Linked DNA regions of Homo sapiens: all the other regions are linked to region 1. Evidence: promoter capture Hi-C in 16 types of primary human blood cells and fetal thymus (Javierre and others, 2016). All regions are on one chromosome and are shown on one strand. The core of a region is centred on a gene start or on the middle of the fragment in contact, and the rest is flanking DNA. Distances in the headings are between cores, read along the strand shown. Region 1 holds the start of ORC1 (origin recognition complex subunit 1). Region 2 holds the start of MAGOH (mago homolog, exon junction complex subunit). Region 3 holds the start of CZIB (CXXC motif containing zinc binding protein). Region 4 holds the start of CPT2 (carnitine palmitoyltransferase 2).

Region 1 (3,632 bases), core at 327-2,826:
AAAACAAACAAAAAATACAAACTCAAGGGCTCAAAAGCAAAAATCTGGAGTGGAACTCTCTAGAAATGAGATACATTGTGTACACCCCTCTTAACCAAAGCCCAATTCTAAACCGCCAAAATTAAACCTCTTATATTAGCTAGTGAACATTGCACTCACTTGAAATCTTCATTTTTGATAAACTCTACAATGATATCCTTCTCGGGTTGAATTTGAAGCATCTTCAAGGTTAAACACAGAAAGGGTGTTGGTTTTATGTTGCCACCATAGACGCCACCCACAAACCTTAACTCCATGGCTTTATCGACTACAAGTTCAGCTAAAAAACAAAAACAATACAGTAACATATTAGGGCTAAGCTCTTCCTAGTTGGAGTGGAGTTAGTTCAAGCTTTGGTTCTCCTAAATATACATCAACAGTGTAATATTAGGAGAACGAATGTGTATTAATAACAGTAACGACAACAGCTAATATACATTGAGAATGGATAATAAAATAGGTACCCTGCTAAGCTTTTCATATTATCTCACTTAACCTTTTTTAACAAGTCATGAAGAAAGTTCTAGCAATGTTCTTATTTCCAGGTAAGGAAAATGAGGGCTAAGAAAGGTAAAGTGACTTGCTCAAGGTCCACAGATTGTCACAGGACATGGATTTAAAGCCACAATTCAAATCGGAAGATTACCTGGAAGACTTCTCTGAAGCACTGATATTTATAAATACTGGAACCGGCCCAGATCTAAGAATAGTAAGATCATGAATTTGGTTTCAGGCATATTAACGTTAGGTCCTTAAAGACCTTCAACAGATTGTGTCAAAGTGTTATATCCGGATCCCTGAGCTTAACACTGTTGCAACCCAGCCTGCTATCATTAAATACGGAATAACTCACAACACCCAACTGAGACAGCCTTCAGAATATGACCTTACCAGATTCATCTGTGCCTCTAATACTCAACACAAGACGAGGCACTTAGCAGGCACTCAAAATTTTTCTGAATGATCGACATACTCCGTTCCAGTACCACCCCCAGAGGCCAGTCGCTAGTCCTACCCGCGCTCGGTCAGGAGAAATGGGCCACAAGGGGGCTGAGAGGCGCTCCGCGCGCTTCCACTTACCTGTAAGTCCAAAGCACTCCTCTTTCCAGTACTTGGACTCATAGATTCGCGTTCGAATGATCTTCTCCACCAGATATTGAGGGTTGGTGCCATGGATGCTGTGCGCATCCTTCACTGTACGGTTAGCCATTTTAGAATGCCTTCAATTCTATTTCCGTCGGATCCTTTAATGCCTCACATCCAGGTTCAGAAAAAGCACCTAGAGGAATGGAGAAAGGTGGAAGAAGTTTCACTAAACAGCTTAGGCGACCATCTTGAAGCCGGAAACACCGTAGTGTAAAGGGCTTCCGCTCCCCGCGTCGCCTATCGAATCAATGATGGCGGCTGCATGTTAGCGGATGTACGTCATGCGCCCCTCTTAGGTGTACGGAGTGGGCGGGGCGAGCTAGTTGGTGTCGCAACGAAGGGACGGTCTGGGGGCGGGGCCACGCCGATTGGCGCGAAGTTTTCTTTTCTCCTTCCACCTTCTTTTCATTTCTAGTGAGACACACGCTTTGGTCCTGGCTTTCGGCCCGTAGTTGTAGAAGGAGCCCTGCTGGTGCAGGTTAGAGGTGCCGCATCCCCCGGAGCTCTCGAAGTGGAGGCGGTAGGAAACGGAGGGCTTGCGGCTAGCCGGAGGAAGCTTTGGAGCCGGGTGAGTGTGGCGTCCAGCGGGCTGCGAGGGACTCGGGGGAGGGCGCATCGGAACCTCTGAAACTGAGGACGTTCTCTGTAGACTCAGTCATTGATTCTTTTAGCTGACATGTACCAAGCGCCTGTTCAGTGCCAGGCACTGTTCTGAACTGTTAAGAGCGTTCCTCTGTTCCACACTCCGATTCCTAAAAGGCTTCCCGCGCTGCAGGGAACTGAGTTTGCAGGGGGGAAGGCGGAAGCCAACAGCCTAGAAGCAGGAGCATTCCTGCCCTCCGCACCCTGATGCTCAGTGATGACTTTCCCTCCATCTGCATTTGTAAAGCACTCTACTTGTTTCGTTCTTTGAGCTATAGTGTAGGAACCACTACAGGGAAGGCGGAGCAGAGGTTATTACCCCATTTTACGGACGTAAATTGCGCCCAGGGAGGGACGTGTCTTAGGTCGCTTTTCGTGACTAAGCAGTCTGGGCTCCTACCCAGATCTTTTTTTCAGATGAGCTCCTAACTGCTGGGCTGTCTGTCATTCACCTTCTTTTCAGAAGAGAAGTCTGGTGGCCCCCTTCCTACTTCTCTTTTCTAACCCCGGAATTGAAGAGTCTTCTGCTGTGACAGTTGGAAAAGGCATTCTTATCCTGATCTATTTGTGAAACTGCAATGATTATATACGATTCTAGTTGTCTGTAACACATGAATAATAGTACCCTCGTCTCTGCTGTGTTAGGTGGGCTGGAAATGCCAAAGGAGTTTCCAATATGACAGAATGGTTTAAGTCCCTTTGCAACAGTTTTTAACTTTAATGGAGGGCAATATGTGGACTTTAGGAGGTTTGTGAATCTGCCGAAATTGAATGCAAAATTTTGCTTGAATTATGTTAGTTCCATAGTATTCATCAAATGATACTTAATAAATAAAACCACTGTACCTTACAAATAAATGCAAGGGATTAAGGTAGTGGGAAAGTGGATTTACCATTTTGCATTTTTTCACTTAATCTTCCATTATCCTAAAATAGTGCCTGGCACACGATGGGTACTTAATAAATATTGGTTGAATAAACGGAAGATTCTATTTTCTCCATTTTGTGGGTAAGCAAATTGAGGCCCAATCCACAATGTTCAGTCAGTGGCTGGGAAGCCTGATTTATTGTAATAAGTACACCAAAAGCAAGCTCTCAGTTACATATTAACATTATCCAGTTTCACACAGTGTGTTGTAAGGTGAAGTAGTTAAGAGCACAGTAATTGCAGTCTGGCTTTTCCGGGTTTGAGTTAAGGCTGTGCCATCCTGTATAAGATAGGATAAGTTATCACCTTGAAGTGATAATAACATCTACTTTTCTTTTTTTTATTTTGAGACAGAGTTCTGCTCTGTCACCCAGACTAGAGTGCAGTGTTGCGATCTCGGCTCACTGCAGCCTCCACCTCCCGGGTTCAAGTGATTTGCCTGCCACCATGCCCACCTGATTTTTGTATTTTTAGTAGAGACGGGGTTTCACCATGTTGGCCAGGCTGGTCCCGAACTCCTGACCTCAGGTGATCCACCCACCTCAGCCTCTCAAAATGCTGGGATTACAGGCGTGAGCCACTGCGCCCAGCCTTTGTATTTCTGTTTTATCCTTGTGTGCATTTTATAAGCGTCATGAAGACATTTACAACCCCTGTATCACTGTCTTTTAATTTCACTTTGTTAGATGTTTTACACCTATTGTTCTGCCTTATTCCTAGTATTTCTAAATGTTACAGTTTCATTTCTTAGGAATTGACCTTTCTGTTTTCCTGGATGGAAAGAGATACGGCATAGTACAAGATGGACACAGATGATACTAAATTGCCTGTGTGTAATCTTCGTAGACCATGACTTCAAATAAAATGTTTTCTTAGT
Region 2 (3,632 bases), core at 687-3,186, 830 kb before region 1:
TTTTTTAAATTTTTTGTAGAGACAGTCTCCTATGTTGCCCAGGCTGGTCTCAAACTCCTGGGCTCAAGTGATCCTCCTGCCTCAGCCTCCCAAAGTGCTGGGACTACAGGTATGAGCCACTGTGTCTAGCCCCCTTCTCGTTTATACAATTCCCTTGTTACCACCCATATCCAGTGTTTTGTAATAAAAATGTCTTATGGTTTTACAGCAATTTAGTTTCCGAGACATTGTTTCTTACAACAGTTCTGCTAGGTGTACATTATTATGCTCATTTTAAAGAGAAGGAAACTGAAGTCTAAAAAGTTGAGTCGGTTCACCTTTGGTTACAATGAGTCATTGTTACACAGGGATTATTTTAACCTGTGTCCAGTGATTTTTCCCCCACCACACCTACTCTACACTCTGCTGCTAATGCTTTTGCAGGGAGAAAAGGACTCCGTGTTAAGACTGAGGGCCGGGCGCGGTGGCTCATGCCTGTAATCCCAGCACTTTGGGAGGCCGAGGCAGACGGATCGCCTGAGGTCGGGAGTTCGAGACCAGCCTGGCCAACATGGTGAAACCCCGTCTCTACTAAAAACAGAAAATTACAAAAATTAGCTGGACATGGTGGCGCATGCCTGTAATCCCAGCTACTTGGGAGGCTAAGGCAGGAGAATCACTTGAACCCAGGAGTTTGAGACCAGCGTGGGCAACATAGGGAGACTTTGCCTCTACAAAAAGTTTAAAAATTAGGTAGGCGAGGTTGCGGTGAACTGAGATCACTCCATTGCACTCCAGCCTGGGCAACAAGAGCGAAACTCCGTCTCAAAAAGAAAAGACTGGGAATAGGAATCAGAGACTGCTGTCCCAACTTACAGAATCGTATACAGTTCTAGCCGCCAGGACCCAAGAATGATGTCATCTCGGCACTGTCTCTAGAACCATTCATTCTTTCTAAGCCTGGAACTTAGATGAGTGAAAGCAGGTTCCTATTACATAATTATGATCTTGATTGCCCTGGGCCTACTCAACTGTAAATTTTTTCCAGAGCCAGAAAGGCTTCACAGAGGACAACTTTACCCTGAAAAGAAAGGACCTCTTTGGTCAGTGGTCCTCAACTCTGACTCACCTGAAAGCTTTACAAAAAGTACCAATGCCCAGGTCCAGCGCTGGAGATTTTAACTGGCTTGGGGTAGAGCCCTGGCATCAGTATTTTTAGAGGCTTCCCAAGTGATTGCAATGTGCAGCCAGGCAGAGAATTACTGCTCGGTAAGTGGGATGACTGGGGAGTGGGAGATCAAATACTCTAACGTCTCCCAGCACCTATTCTAGAGATCAGTGGGGCAGAAAGGTAGAAATAAAAGGTGGAAAGGGATGAAATGGGTAAGTGTGGGTGAATTAGTTCCAGGAAAACGGCAATCTCCACTGTGGATTCAGGGAAGGCGTCACTGAGGAGGGCTTTCTTAACAGTTCAGGTCAGTGGAAGCCAACTTGAGGCACACATCGTGCGCGGCATCCTCCGGGGAGGTCGGGTCATTTCACCCCATTTTACTGCCGAGATGACCTAGGTCCAGAGACGGTAAAGAGCGGTGTACGACTCACACAAGTCGGGGGTCCTGTGAACCGAGGTTGAGCCTGGCGGGCCTTCGGCCCGAGGTCTTTAAGCGAAGTCACCAGACCCGGGGTTCAAAGCCCAGAGGTAGGCAGGCGGCTGGCTCTCCGCCTCAGGCCTGGAGAGAACCCAGGGGTATGAACCTCAACCTCGCTCCCGCGTCCAGCTGGAGGGGCGGAGCTGGCTGGCCCCGCCTCCGGGTTAAACAAAGTTCTTTACAGACTAGGCGTGAGGGGATGTTGCAGTCTTGTTGCCACTTCCGGGCGAAGAGGTTAGCGAGAAGGAACCCCTCCACGCAGCGACGACGGGACCTGACGTCACTTCCGCGCGCCGCCGCAAACGTCAGTGTCGGGCGCAGACGGCGGCAGTGCGGCTTGCTCTTGGAAGTTCAGGCTCGGTTGTCTTTTGGGAGCCATGGAGAGTGACTTTTATCTGCGTTACTACGTGGGGCACAAGGGCAAGTTCGGCCACGAGTTCCTGGAGTTTGAGTTTCGACCGGACGGTAAAAGCAGCCTGCCGCCCGCCGGGAGCGGGGACCAGGCCTGGGGGCCGGCGAGTGGGGAGGCCGAGGGTCGGAAATCTGTGGGGAACTAGAGGAGGGAGGGACTGAGACCTGTGCAGTGCAGATCTTAAAGGAACGCCACTGTGTCTGCTCCACGGGGTCTTTCTATCCATTCAGCAAACGTTGACTGAACGCCCACTGTGTGCCAGGCTCTGTTCCACTCTTTGGGAATACGGCAGCGAAGGTAGACAAACTTCCCCTCTCGTGGAACTTGTGTTTTACTGCCGGGAGAGAGATCATAAACAAAAAGATGATTCCAGATAGCAGTGAGTGGTCAAAAAATAACATGGTAGAATAATTGCTGGATGGGCTGCTTTTAGATAGGTTGGCCATTAGAGAGCTCTCTGTAAAGGGTATATTGCAGCCGAGTCCTAATTAACAAGAAGGGCTCAGCCTTGTGAAGCTCATAAGGAAGACCATTCTACACAAAGGGAATACCAGATGTCAAGGCTGCAGGGCGGGAATGAGCTAGGCGTGTCTCAGGTGGTCAGTGTGGTTGAAGAGTGGTGAGCTGGGAGATAGCAGGAGATGATGTCGGATAGGTAGGTAGGAGCGGCACCTCTTAGGTCTTTATAGACCACGGTAAAAAGTTTGGACTTGGAAGGCCTTTTTTTTTTTTTTTTTTTTGAGACGGCTTTCGCTCTTTTTGCCCAGGCTGGAGTGCAATGGCGCGATCTCGGCTTATTGCAACCTCCGCCTCCCGGGTTCAAGTGATTCTCCTGCCTCAGCCTCCCGAGTAGCTGGAATTATAGGCGCCCACCACCACGCCCGGCTAATTTTGTATTTTTAGTAGAGACGGAGTTTCACCATGTTGGCCAGGCTGGTCTCGAACTCCTGACCTCAGGTGATACGCCCGCCTCGGCGTCCCAAAGTGCTGGGATTACAGGTGTGAGCCACCGCGCCCGGCCGGGCTTGGAAGGTTTTAAGCAGAGAAGAAATGTGATCTCTTCTTGAAAAAGCATTCTGGTTATTGGGTGCGGAATGGGCAAGAGTGGAAACAGGGCTATTGATTAGGAGACTGTTGCAGTTGTCAAGACACGAAAGATGTTGGGGGCCGGGCGCGGTGGCTCAAGCCTGTAATCTCAGCCCTTTGGGAGGCCGAGGTATGCGGATCACTTGAGGTCAGGAGTTCAAGACCAGCCTGGCCAACATGGTGAAACCCCGCCTCTACTAAAAATACAAAAATTAGCCGGGTGTGGTGGCAGACGCCTGTAATCCCAGCTGCTCGGGAGGCTGAGACAGGAGAATCTCTTGAACCTGGGGCGGAGGTTGCAGCAAGCTGAGATAGTGCCACTGTACCCCAGCCTGGGTGACAGAGCAAGACTCTGTCTCAAAAAAAAAAAAAAAAAAAGATACTGGTTGGGACTACAGAGATAGTAGAAATGGAGAGAAAGATTTAGGAAACTGTTGGAGGCAGAACCAACTGGACTTTGATCGTTGATAGGATTTTGTTGGCAGAGGCACTGTGGTGAAGGAAAG
Region 3 (3,632 bases), core at 543-3,042, 810 kb before region 1:
GCCCCAGATCCCCAGATGCGAAAAGCCCAGTGGGCCAGGCGAGCAGCGGCGCGCAGAAGTCCCTGCCCCGCGGCCCGGCCCCGGCCCCGCCCTACTGAGGGTGCGCAGACGGCACCCGCCTTTTACGACGCGCCGGAAAGCAACGGCAAGGGCCGCAGCCAGCACCGGGCGGAGAGGGCTACCATGGGGGTGAGGGGAGGCCGCCCGCCGCGGGGACACGGAGGGGAGGTGGCGAGGGTCTGGGAGGCAACAGCTCGCGCCAGGAGGAGATGAAGCGAGTGGGTGCGCGCTGAAGGAGCAGGAGGCAGAAGGAGTGTCTCCCTGTGGCACCCACGGCTGGGAATGCGGGAGGGTCGGGCAGGCGTGGGGCTGCGCAGGCACGGCTGACGCAGTCGCTCTGGCCCTCCCCCTCAGAAAATCGCGCTGCAACTCAAAGCCACGCTGGAGAACATCACCAACCTCCGGCCCGTGGGCGAGGACTTCCGGTGGTACCTGAAGGTGCGGCCGGGGCGGGGCCCGGGGAGAGGAGGCCCGTCCTGATCTCAGTGCTGAACCGGAGCCTTCTCTCCGGCAGTATGAGAAAATATTTAACCAGGCACATTAAGTGTTCGGGGTTTTCCTAGTTAGAATTTTACGTTTGCTTTCTATTAAAGTGTATTGGTTTATCTCTAATTGGCAGTCTTGGAAAGCTTCATTTTGTAGTTCTTCCCTGTGTTAAATATTTCGTGGTCTGTAAATGGACACTAAACGAAATGCTACTTGAAGGGACGCTTGTGATTATTTAATAAGGTGAATAGTTCGCCTTTCGTTTATTGATTTGGTTTTCTTTATTGTGAAATAGTTTAATTTTGTGCGTAATCCACCCTTCCTTAGCCCTCCCACACTGGTAAAGCTGGTACCCTAGTGGCATGGTCTACAGAGGCCTCCCCTTCCCCAGCAGTTCGAGGCTCTTCACTCTTCCAGATCCCAGAGCTTCTGCTCTGTTTTACTCCTGGTCAAAAATCCCAGCATCCTTCTGTACCTCTCAAAAGCCCTGTTTTTCGGGAAGCTGCCTCCGGACTACTTTTGTTTCCCAGGATTTTGAAGCCTGAATACCAGGGCTTACTTGGGAGAATCTGTTCTTTGGCTTGAAGAAGCGGAATCGAGTGAAGGAGACAGAAAAATAGAGTAACAATAGAGTGATAAGTGCTTATACCAGTGACATACAGGGCCTGTGGGAACATAAAGCTAACCAAGCAGAGTGGGTCGGGGGCCTGCTGAGGCCATTTCTCTTTTTTTTTCTTAATTGACACAGAATTGTACATATTTATGGGGTATATAGTGATGTTCCGATAAATGTAATGTATTGTGATCAGATCAAGGTAGTTAGCATATTCACCTCAAACGTGTATCATTTCTTTGTGTTGGGAGCATTTAATATCCTAGCTATTTGAAACTATATATTATTGTCAGCTATAGTCATCCTACAGTGCTATAGAACACTAGAACTTATTCCTCCCATATAGCTGTAATTTTGTATCTTCTAACAAATCTCTCCATATTCCCCCCCCTCACCTCCGCTGAAACCATTTCTGCACCACAGGTGCCTTGAATCCCCGGCCACACTGAGCACTTCATAGAGGAGGGTGGGCACGCCGGCATAGGAAACAGCCTTACCTATCCTTTGCCCAGAGATAGTTCTAGTTTTGTCCTTGTTGGGGCAGGTGTTAGGGATGAAGTGAGATTGCCATCAAGAAGGTAGATCATGAGCCTGCCCACCTCCCACTGTTCTTACCCTTTCCTTGGTGTCTGTGCAGCAGAGCCAGCTGCTTTACTAACATTCTTTTTCCCCAAAGATGAAATGTGGCAACTGTGGTGAGATTTCGGACAAGTGGCAGTACATCCGGCTGATGGTAACTGTTCCCCGCCCAACCCCCAACATAAACACTCACAAACACACATACACTTCTGGGCAGGGATTTGGGGAAACTGGCCTTCATCTCTCCAGTTCTTTGCTCCCTGCTTTTTGTGGTTTGGGAGGGTAGGTGTCAGTGTGATCAGCACTGGATTCAATAGGCATCTTTGAGGTATGAGGCAGAGTTCAAAATCAAGGGGAAGCCCTTTTTTTATTTTCCTCAGGAAGCCTTCCCAGGAGTCTTGTCCTAGTAAGTTACCCTTTCTGGGTCTTGGTCTCTTTAAGTGGACAATAAATGGTGGGCTCGATCTCCTCAGGACTGTACATCTAATTCATATGTGACTGAAAGTTCTGTTTGCTTTTTGCCAGGACAGTGTGGCACTGAAGGGGGGCCGTGGCAGTGCTTCCATGGTCCAGAAGTGCAAGCTGTGTGCAAGAGAAAATTCCATCGGTAGGTCAGGCTGTGCGTACTGAGTTCTGCCAGGGTGGCCCACAGCTTCCTGGCACCAGGCTGAAAGTAGACTCATGTTACCTGAGGGTGGAGTCAGGCCTAAGATGCCGACACCTGTACAGCGTGATCTTTTTCAGGGCCACATGTGGGCACCTGGCTGGGGCGAGGGTATGGACTCAAGTCAACTTTGTGTTCTCTTTTCTATTTCAGAGATTTTAAGCAGCACCATCAAGCCTTACAATGTAAGTTTGCTGCTGTAGTGGCAGGGATGGTGGGCTTAAATCCTAACTGGAGTTAGTAGGTCTGGGTTCTAGAGTCATGCCTGCATCAGAGTGACCTGCCATAGGACATTCACTCATGAACTTAGTTCTTCTTTGACTCAGTCATTTATCCACTGTACACTGAGTGCTTGGTATATTGCCTCTTGCAGTGCCTTCTTATGAGGGCTGGGCTGTGAGAGCTCAGGGGACCTCTGACACAACCTAGCTGTTCAGTTTGCATCACTGAGAGCACTTGCCTTGTCTTCATTTTAGGGGACTAGCAAGCTTTCTCTGAAACCATGGGTGGGGTAGTCGTTTGGTGCATCCCATCCTTTATATCATCAGTGTTAACAAGTTAGCCCAAAGGTGAGGGAGGGTGTGCTTTGGATCTGTTTGTTTAAAGAAAGCCAGTTATATGTATTCACCTATTCCTTATTTGGTATTTATTTAAAGTATCTTGAGTTGTGCCAAATTCTTGGCTTTGTCCTGAAGTTAAAGAGAAATTAAATGAGGACTCGCCTTCACGTACATAATAATCTAGTGGAAAATACAAAAAACAAGAATCGAACTAGGGCCCTAACAGAGAAGTGCCTTACCAGTGCCAGAGATGTGGTCAGTGTGCAGGAAATTACTTTACAGTGAATGACAGGATGAGACTGAATGTAGGGCATGGCACTTGTGGTCCCTAAGCCCATAGGTCAGGTAGGCATGAATTTCCTGGCCACCTGCCCCCCAAGAGGTGCCCCCTCCACATACATAACCATTTCAAAGGCTATAAGACAGCCCTCTGCCCTTACTGCATGGCAGATGGTCAGCAAAAGGCTATGGTTAAGTGTACTGGGTCTGTTTGGATGATCTAGAGACTTTGGAGCTTAACATTCTTGTTCATATTTTTGGTGTTGATAATTTTATTTACTATTTATTGAGCACTGTGCTGGGCACTTTATATGCATTTCAAAATCTGACAGTAAAATTGTAGAGGTTTCCTCGGCTCTATTTGACAGTTTAGGAATCTTGGGCCCAGAGG
Region 4 (3,632 bases), core at 363-2,862, 790 kb before region 1:
GTCTTAGATGTTTGCACAAAATGTAATTTCACAAGAATCACTCGATCCTCCTGAGAGGGTGAGGGTATGTAGTGATGACGTTGGGTTAAGTGGTCCCAGATGCAGAGAAAAACAACCCAGCAGCTCGGGTGAGGCCTGTGACACAATGTTCCACACATGGGGAAGAAGCCTGGCCTCTAGCTCTTGGAGTGTGGGGAATCCCTGAGGGCAGTTTGGTGAGAAATAAGGTGAGAAGGGTCTTTGAGACAAATTTTGAACTTGGCTCCAGGAACTGAGTTACTCACTCAGTAAGTTAGAAGTTAGTTTAGGTTTGGTTTAGAGGGTGAAGAAAATTTCTAATATTGAAGAAGGAGATCTGGCAACTCAGACGAAAGCGGAGTTCGAAGGCTGGAAGAACTGGAAGCTGGATTTAAGAAAGTACTGGGGGAGGGAAGGGGAAGAGGATTTACTAGGGCTCTTTTCAGAGGGGAAGTCGATTCTGGGTGAAGTGTTTCGAAGGCAGGGTAGCCAGTGGTGAGGAGGAGAAGAGAAATTTGGGTGGACCCTGGATCTGAGTATGATGGAGTGTGGATGGGGTACTGAGGGTGGTGTCTAGAATTCTGTGAGGGTGAGCTGCACTTACAAGGGGTACTGTGGGTGAGGAAGGATATTTTGAGGGGAGGAACCTGTTGAGGAGGGCTTGGAGAGAGTGAAAGGTTTCCGGGTGAACACTGGATTTAGGAGATTAAAGATTTAAAAACATGGGGGAGGGTCAGTTGAGGACAAGGGTGAACACTTCAGGGCTGTGCTTGTGGGGGCTCATGGGGGGTGAAAGAACAGAGTACTGGAGAAATGGGAGGTGGGGCTGAGGGTCCTGAGTGACAGGGGTGAAGGCGGTGCTGGGAGAAGTTAAGGAATGGTAACCATGATGTATTAGGAATCAGCCTACCCATATTCCGGGTAGGAATGTGAGGCAGTCATTAAAGTACTTCAGGAGACACCATAGTCGAGGGATTACAGCGGCGCTGGAAATATGCAGGTCTGGCATTTTTCAGGGAGAAGAGGACTCAGGATAGCTGGCTGGAAGTTAGGTTAAAGGAGAGGGAATCTGAGAAGCGTTCAAGATGGAGAATCTGAGATAGCATCGAGGGGTTCTGGAAGAGAATTTGAGGGTTCTGAGGTTCCTGTGCTAGGAGATTGTGAAAAGTCCCAAGACTTCCAGATTAGGGGCTGTGGCAGCCTCCATGGTAGGGGCTTGGGGGCGGAAACGGGTTCACTAGAGGAGTCATGAGTGACTGCAGTCAGGTTGGGGCCGATCCTGGGACGGCGGCGGGCGGCGGGGACCCGGAGGCCAGGCTCACCTGGGCAGGCTGTCCTGGTAGTGCATGGTGGGCACGATGCTGCGCTGCAGGTACTGGCCGGGCCCGGAGCCGGCGCTGAGGGGCCGACTGGGGGCTCCCGGACCAACCGCGGGGCCCCGGGGCCAGGCGCGCAGCAGCAGGCGGGGCACCATCGTCCCGGGAGCCTGCGGCGGCGAGAACGCGGCAAGTGGGGAGTTCTGGAGTCTAAACACAAGGCCGCCGCCGCCGTTAGCGCCCAAGACACTGCGTCAGGACTCCTGAGGCACTTCTCCGCCCGCAGGCCACTTCCGGCCCCTGTAAGGCCATCGGCTCCGCCCCGGACTGGCTCCTTCCGGGCAGGGGCCGCTCACTGACAGGCCCCGCCCACTAGTAGGCCCCGCCCGGAAGGGGGCCCCAGCCTCCGCGCTGCTCGTCTCCCTTCCCTTCCCTAGGAGGCGGGAAACCGAGCGCCGCAGCCGCTCCTTCCCCTTTTTTGGAGCAAGACAGAAACTGGAGTTGGAAAAAAAAAAGAAAAGCTAAGAAACGTGATTGGAATCTGATAACCCAAAATTTGATCCAGGCTCCATCCTTGCGAGACTGTGGACTAAATTTTAAACCTCTATTTCCTCACCTAAGAAGTAGATAGATCGTAATGATTCAAAGTACCTCCCAAAATTCTAGATATGAGATAAAGATAACATGTTATGCACAGTGCATGGTGCTTAATAGGAAAGCAGTAAACGGTAACGGATGTTACTGTTGTTAGTAATCCGTGCTGAAGGTCATTGACATATAATGACCCTGAACCCTGCACAGCTACTGCCCTGCCAGCTCACCTGAGTGGATGGATATTAGAAAGGATTTGTGCAGGAGTTGGAAACCTGGAGTTTCCCGCTGGCCACCACTTCAGTGCAGAAAGCCCCTTCCGAGCGGAATCCCCTCTGCCTGAACATCCATTCTTGGCTTGAGCATTTCCAAAAACAAGAAGCTCACTGCTAAGAGGAAAGAAACCCTTGTCCTCCGGCTCTAGGAAGTCTTCCGTGTTCAGTCTATTGGAAGAGGCTTCCTGTCACCACAGACCACCTCCAAGATTCCTTCCAACTCCTGACTCTAAGATTCCGCTACTTGAACATAGATCTATCATCCCTCATCCATCACAAAACAGCTGCAGAACAGCCCACCACGCCCCAATCCCTGATCTTAGAAGTAGCTGCAGGATTAAGTAGGCTCTACTCCCATTTTACAGAAGAAGACAGGGAGTTACCAAAAGACACACAATTATGCTGCCTAGCTTGAGGCACAACAGAATTCCATTTTGGGAACAGAACTGCCCTTTAGCCGTTTGGGGCAGCCAAGTACATTCTGTCTGTTCCATAATTGGCTAAGCAGAGCCAGAAGCTGGAGCACACCAGAAAGAGTACTGGATTGGGAGTCAGGAGACCGGACTTTTAGTTTCAGCTCTTTGTTATCTAGTTAGGTGACCTCGGATTGAACAGGAAGATCACTAACCAGCTCTGGCACTCATTCAGTGGTGATCACAAATGCTTAACCCATTTCCCGTTTAGAAAAAAACAGCGCAGCTTGCTGCCAGCTCTTATTTCTTAGGGCAAATGGGAAATGGCTTAAGAACTAAGCATGAAATTCAGAAACACTGAATATCGAATCCTCCTCTCTTGAGGGGAGAAAAGGCCCAACTGGCCCAACTCCAAAACATCGGTGCCATTTGCCTGTAGTGTATAAGGCCAGAGGGAGAATATAAAACTCTTTCTGAAAATGAGCCATCTCCTCTAAATCCTGATCATTTTCAGAGCCTTGATACCCGAGGCAAATATCGAGATCTGTGTAGTGCTAAGGGGATCAGAGGACCAGGAAGAAATAGTGGGCCCAGTAGAAAAGCAGCGGCTCTATTCTAGAGACAGAGGGCCAAAAGATTGAGCCCATCCAATCTAACAGCCAAAAGAGGGACGTGAACACCTTTGGTGAGTGCATGGCCAATGGGAGCAACTCTAAGCCTTTAGGCTGGTGTCCAAGGCCTTCTGAATTCTGACCCCTACCTACTTCTCCAGCTCCCATCATGTCACCCCAAAATACTCTATGCCAGGGGTGTCCAATCTTTTGACTTCCCTGAGCCACACTGGAAGAAGAATTGTCTTGGGCCACACATAAAATACACTAATACTAATGATAGCTAATAAGCAAAAACAAAACAAAATTGTAAAAATATCTCATATTTTAATAAAGTTTACTAATTTGTGTTGGCCTCATTCAAAGCCATCCTGAGCTGTGGGTTGGACAAGCTTGCTCTATGCTGTA

Evidence for each region. Contacts are between HindIII fragments. The CHiCAGO score rates a contact against its expected background, and 5 or more counts as called.
Region 2: the fragment with the promoter of MAGOH here is called in contact with the fragment with the promoter of ORC1 in region 1 in 1 of 17 cell types (fetal thymus); the score reaches 7.7 in fetal thymus.
Region 3: a contact is called between a fragment that was not itself captured here and the fragment with the promoter of ORC1 in region 1, in 1 of 17 cell types (fetal thymus). The highest score is 7.1, in fetal thymus.
Region 4: a contact is called between the fragment with the promoter of CPT2 here and the fragment with the promoter of ORC1 in region 1, in 1 of 17 cell types (fetal thymus). The highest score is 6.1, in fetal thymus.

What each region holds. Positions count from the first base shown.
Region 1 is chr1:52,402,367-52,405,998 of GRCh38, reverse strand. It overlaps ORC1 (origin recognition complex subunit 1), which reads left to right and starts at 1,576. Exons shown (of 17, transcript NM_004153.4): 1 at 1,576-1,753. It overlaps PRPF38A (pre-mRNA processing factor 38A), which reads right to left and starts at 1,397. Exons shown (of 10, transcript NM_032864.4): 1 at 1,120-1,397; 2 at 160-319. The coding sequence starts at 1,249. RefSeq lists an enhancer at 878-2,077. The HindIII fragment of the contact is 1,229 bases long and covers 515-1,743 here.
Region 2 is chr1:53,236,822-53,240,453 of GRCh38, reverse strand. It overlaps MAGOH (mago homolog, exon junction complex subunit), which reads left to right and starts at 1,936. Exons shown (of 5, transcript NM_002370.4): 1 at 1,936-2,093. The coding sequence starts at 2,006. It overlaps MAGOH-DT (MAGOH divergent transcript), which reads right to left and starts at 1,844. Exons shown (of 3, transcript NR_038953.1): 1 at 1,109-1,844. RefSeq lists enhancers at 1,925-2,054, 2,095-2,154, 1,642-2,283. The HindIII fragment of the contact is 5,872 bases long and covers 1,118-3,632 here.
Region 3 is chr1:53,217,127-53,220,758 of GRCh38, reverse strand. It overlaps CZIB (CXXC motif containing zinc binding protein), which reads left to right and starts at 125. Exons shown (of 8, transcript NM_017887.3): 1 at 125-189; 2 at 415-498; 3 at 1,836-1,892; 4 at 2,264-2,345; 5 at 2,556-2,587. The coding sequence starts at 184. CZIB-DT (CZIB divergent transcript) reads right to left here and starts at 399. Exons shown (of 1, transcript NR_185918.1): 1 at 1-399. RefSeq lists a silencer at 1-353 and an enhancer at 223-724. The HindIII fragment of the contact is 2,201 bases long and covers 692-2,892 here.
Region 4 is chr1:53,194,804-53,198,435 of GRCh38, reverse strand. CPT2 (carnitine palmitoyltransferase 2) reads right to left here and starts at 1,612. Exons shown (of 5, transcript NM_000098.3): 1 at 1,341-1,612. The coding sequence starts at 1,492. RefSeq lists a silencer at 1,269-1,628. The HindIII fragment of the contact is 6,053 bases long and covers 1-3,618 here.